Regions from separate parts of the Homo sapiens genome. Here region 1 is linked to region 2. The links are contacts of gene promoters, found by promoter capture Hi-C in human tissues and cell types (Jung and others, 2019). All regions are on one chromosome and are shown on one strand. The core of a region is centred on a gene start or on the middle of the fragment in contact, and the rest is flanking DNA. Distances in the headings are between cores, read along the strand shown.

The links. Contacts are between HindIII fragments. The study calls those that stand out against the background at their distance.
Region 1: a fragment that was not itself captured here is called in contact with the fragment with the promoter of BBS9 in region 2 in 1 of the 25 tissues and cell types used here (dorsolateral prefrontal cortex).

The regions. Positions count from the first base shown.
Region 1 is chr7:32,580,446-32,583,145 of GRCh38, reverse strand. AVL9 (AVL9 cell migration associated) reads right to left here. Exons shown (of 16, transcript NM_015060.3): 15 at 2,256-2,344. It also overlaps the pseudogene DPY19L1P1. Among named protein-coding and RNA genes, the nearest start is that of AVL9, 86 kb to the right of the region's middle. The HindIII fragment of the contact is 9,751 bases long and covers 1-2,700 here.
Region 2 is chr7:33,128,175-33,130,874 of GRCh38, reverse strand. BBS9 (Bardet-Biedl syndrome 9) reads right to left here and starts at 1,311. Exons shown (of 23, transcript NM_198428.3): 1 at 834-1,311. RefSeq lists enhancers at 1,249-1,358, 1,849-1,898 and a silencer at 1,409-1,708. The HindIII fragment of the contact is 11,941 bases long and covers 1-2,700 here.

The DNA of each region.
Region 1 (2,700 bases), core at 72-2,571, 550 kb after region 2:
TGATAATCAATAACCATCTAAACAGGGAAGAGTGGTTAGACTGTTGTAGGGAAATGTGCTTTTGTCATCTAAAATGAAGTTATGTTACACAAAGATGTATAGAGCTCTATCTGCCCCAGGTCTATTGTGTTTTATAGAACAGTATCTCAAAAGTTGATGTTAGGCCAGGCATGGTGGCTCACACCTGTAATCCCAGCACTTTGGGAAGCCGAGACGGGTGGTTAGCTTGAGTCCAAGAATTCGAGACAGCCTGGGAAACATGGCGAAACCCTCTTTCTACAAAAAATAGAAAAATTAGCCAGGCATGATGGCACATGCCTGTAGTCCCAGCTACTTGGTAGGCTGAGGAAGGAGGATCCTGCCAGGGGTTGCAGGGATTGCAGTGAGCCAAGATCGCACCATATTGCACTTCAGCTTGGGCAACAGAGTGAGACCCTGTCTCAGGAAAAAAAGGTGATGCTAAGTGAAATTATTTAAGTTGACTAATACACTCCCACTATTCTTGGACAGAAGAGTATAGAAGAGATTTGGCTTTAGAATTTAACTATCAGTAGCAGCATCACTAAAAAATAATAACGTATAATGATGTATCTATAATAATCTATAATATAGCATAGTTTTTCTATTAAAAAATAAAAATTCAAAATAAGCCAAAGGCATATTGTTTGGAAATAAATGTTTGTGTGCTAAATTCCATTCCTTTGCAATAAAACTAATCTAGTGGTAGCGCTGTGTGTTGTCTTTACAAATGAGTCTGTAGAGTTTTCTGTCTCTCTCTAGGTATTCAGAAAACTAGGGATATAAGGACACCTACACAAAGATTACTTAGTTCTGGGGCTTTTGAATTGTGTTCAGTAACGGTTAGTCAACCTCTTTCAGAAGCTAGGGAAGTAGTAATGCCCTATTTTTACAACACATTGTATGACAAAGCAGATGGGGCAAAATGTAAATAATTGGTGAATCAGAAGATAATTGGGAGTTTCTTGCACTGTTGCAATGTTCAGGTTTGAAACTACATCAAAATAAAAAGTTAAAAATATAGAAAAGGAATGAAAAATTTTAGAACTGATGTGGAACAATATTCAAAATATTTTAAGCGAAAACAGCTAGGTGCAGAAGAGCATGCTACCATTTGTCTGACTTTGATACTAATATTGGCCTCATCCAATGAGTTGGGGAGTATTACCTTATTTAAAGATTTTGTGTAAAACTAGTATTTCTTCCTTAAACATTTGACAGAGTTCAAACTGAAGCCACCTGGGCAGCCTGGTTTAAATTAAAAACCTTATGGCAAGGCTTTTCACGTTAAATTCAATTAATTTCTTTCTTTCTTTAAGACTCTTGCCCTGTCACCCAGGCTGGACTGCTCACTGCAGCCTTGACTTCCTGGGCTCAAGCAATCCTCCCACTTCAGCCTTTCAAGTAGCTGGGACTGCAGGCACACACCACCATGCCTACTGACTTTTTAAATTTTTTTTTAGAGATGGGGTCTCACTATGTTGCCCAGGCTGGTCTTGAACTCCTGGACTCAAGCAATCCTCTCACCTCAGCCTCCCAAAGTGCTGGGATTACAGGTATGAGCCACTGCATTCGGCCCAATTTCTTTAATAGATAATAGGGCTATTCATATTTTCTTTTTGCAACTGTGTTGGTAATGCGAATCTTTAAAAAAATTTGTATATTTCATTTATGTTGTTAAACTGGTTAGCATAAAGTTGTTCACAATATTCCCCTATTTTCTGTTCTTTTAATTTCTGTAAGAGCTACAGTAATGTCCCTCTTTCATCCCTAACGTTGGTAATTTGTACCTTCTTTCTTTTTATCTTTACCAGATTTTATAAATATTGTTGATCTTTTTGAAAAACCAACTGTTGGCTTCATTTTCTTTATTGTGTAATACTACCTTAGAGGATAGCAGTTCCTAATACCTACTTTTATTATGAGTCTCTGCCATTTATAAAGAACTGTGGACAGCACAGGGAATGGGGGAAGAAAACTCTGGTGCAGCTTGAATCTTGGTAGCAAAACAGTGACTTCATCAGAAAATTTTGTCACTCTCTATTAGATAATGGAGTTTGACCATTTGGAATTTGGAATTTTTCAAATGAATATGACAAAAATTTAAAAAACTCTTGTATTACTATGTGATAACACAGATCTTTACAACTTTATGTTTGTTTTATCAATTACATATTAAAGATAGAAAATGGATGTGTTGTGATTCCAATTTGTTCCTGGCTAAAGGCATGTCTTACCAACAGCTTTTCCTGTTTGTACAACATTCCGGCTAGTTGTGACCATGACGTTTCCAATTTTTTTGCCACGTTCACTATTCTGAACAGAACTGGGTAAAAGATAAGATAAAAGAAGTGTTAGGTACAATTTTAAAAAAATCTCACACACGCACACAGACACATATAGACACACACACAATAGTCACTCTGTAACCATCCAAAATTAGAATTACTGAGAAAAGAAGCTAAATTATTATTTGTTATGAATTAATTTATTAACCTTTTAAGCATGTGCATTTTCAGAATACACGAGAAGAACATACAGATGAACCAAAAAGTGGTGAGGACATAAGGATGTATGTATGGCTGCATCTCTCCGACAGCCACGGCTTGCTAAAAGCACTTCACCAAAATAAAAATGGTAAATCCTGTTATTAGTTCACACCATCCTGTATGAAACAGTGGT
Region 2 (2,700 bases), core at 62-2,561:
TATAGTTGTAATTTAACCACGACAATTACACACAAGGAAAAATCCCTTAAACTCTGACAAATAACTTGTAACTTATTTTCAAAATAAAGTTTTTTAAAATTCTTCTTTAAAAACTTCTGGGTTTTCTAGTTTTTTTTTTAATTCTTCCGTATATTCATGAAAAAAATCTCAGTAATTGTTTTCTTTATAAAATGCTAATAAGTTAGAAAATCTTTCTCTGAATGCTGGCCAACTTAAGACCCATAGCTTATCCTGCAGCATCTTTCAAGTTGTTTATCAATGAGGACATGTAAGATGTGTATACCTGTAAGATACGGTTTCATTTTTAAAGTAAAAGTGAGATACCCAAAAAAATACATTTCTCCAGGAAATTGAAGTCAAAGGCAGGATTTGACTGGCAGGAGGTGCTGATAAAATCAGCGCAGCTCATCTAAACTGTTGTGGTCTCCAAGTAACAAGAGGAGAAACAATAATCCTATTACTAGAAGGATTGGGGGTATTAGTACATGCATCCTACTTCAGTCGTAGGCTGGGAACTGCTTTGCCCATTTACTCACAGACCTGTTGAAGTGTCTCAGGAGGATGCTCATGCTCCAAGTGACATTCCTCAATGGAATCCTTAAAAATTCTCATCCCTTTTTTCTCAAAAGTACTCACAGAATCTCATACACTTTGTGCTCCTAGTGTTTGTTTATTTCAGTGCAAACATCTAAGAAATCAATCACCTTACAGACTCCAAACCATTATACTGCATTAGAGAATCTTGTTCACAAAATAAAACATGGAAAGGGTATTCATGTACCCGAAGTTTAACAACAGACATACCATCTTACCTGATGCCACGTCAGATGAGCTCTGCCCCACCTTTCTGCGAACCCTCGTTCGGCAAATTTTGCTTTATGAACGCCTGACAAGGTCCCAGTGATGGAGCAGAGGGAGCAAGAACGGACGGTGCAGAGAAAAGCAACCTTTAGCTTCACTATTCCCTCTCGTCCTCCAGCTGAAAGTTGTTCCACGTCCCGGGCAAAGAGAGAGCCCCACCAGGCAGCACCACCAGCTCCACAGAGTTGGAGTGATTCCCCCAAGAAGCTCCCCTGCGCCCCCCGTCACCCCCAGAGACCAGCAGAGGAAACGGCATCTATCCCTTGGAAGACACTAGGCAGGCGAGAACAAATGCAAGTCCTGCTGCTCACACCGAGGAGGAAAGGATGGAGGAGGCGGTGAATGGGATGTAGCAGAAACCCGACGGCCGCAGCGGAAGGGACACCTCCCCTCTCCAGCCTAACTCTGAGCCATCTTCGCCCTGTTGTCATAGCACTTACAACGGACGCCACTGCGCAGGTCACGCCGTGCCGCGCCGACTTCTGGGGGCTGGAGTCCAGAGAGGCTGAGGCGCAAAGGCGGGGACCGACTTCTGAGAGGGCCGCGGTTGGAATTAGATTGCTACTGGGGCGGGGCTCGAGTGAACCACGGCCTGGTCCTCATTAGCAGAGAGTGATAATTACTGCAATCCTCTGCCCTGTCCTGGCAGCAGTTCCTTAAGGAAGACCCTCCTCCTGCCTGGGCTCCGGGGGCAGGCCACGCCCCCCCGGCCGCGTGACCGCCCTCTCCCCTCGGTGCGTGTGGGTGGGGCCTAGTGGGGGCGGGGCGTCACTGGCTTGTCCATGGTGCTCTGGGATCCTGCGCTTCTGAGAGTCCCAATCGCGGTGTTTTTTTCCTGCCGGGACACTCATGAGGGCCCCGTCCATGCACCGCGCGACCGTGGCGAGGGTGGTCGCGGTAGCGAGCGCCAGCGTGTGCGCCCTGGTGGCGGGGGTGGTGCTGGCCCAGTACATATTCACCTTGGAGAAGAAGGCGAGGCGGAAGACCAAGATCATCGAGATGATGAAGCTTTTGAACAGTTTCCAGTTTTTCCTTTTTTTACTATTTGAAACAGCGCTGCTTTGAAGTTACTTGTGCCTGCGTCCTGATACACATGTGTTAAATATATTTTCCGTATATACCTTAGAGTGCATTTCCTGGTATATGGGATTGGATCTATGTCTTCTTTTGTTTTTTACTTATTTTTTTTTAATCTTTACATTCAAATTCAATGTAGCCAACCTTGAAGTTTTTCTTGTTTGCTTTTTTCAATGGATTCTAGTGTAGGCTTTAAATTTCCAGTATTTCACCATCAATCCACAAATCCACATTCCCAGTAGAAAATACCATTCTAGTTTTAGTTTTTTGGGTTTTGGGTTTTTTTTTTTTTTTTAACTGAGACTGGGTCTCCCTGACAGGGTCGCCTAGACTGGAGTGCAGTGACAGGATCACTGCTCACTGAAGCACTGAAGCCTCAGCCTCCCGGGCTCAAACGATTCTCCCACCTTAGCCTTCCTAGTAAGCTGGGACTACAGGCACAGACCACCACACCTGGCTAATTTTTGTATTTTTTGTAGAGATGGAGTTTCGCCATGTCCAGGTTGCTCTCGAACTCCTGGGTTCAAACGATCCACCCACCTCAGTCCCCCAAAGTGCTGGGATTGCTGGCGTGAGCCACCGCGTCCGGCCTCAATATTTTTAAAAATGACCTTTCAGTCAAAGCCTTGGTAATATAACCAGTTTCCAATTGTATTCTGCTATACAGAGAGAGCAGATTTTTATTAGACTTATTGAAATGACCATATTACCATAAGAAGACTCACAAATGGTTTTCTAATT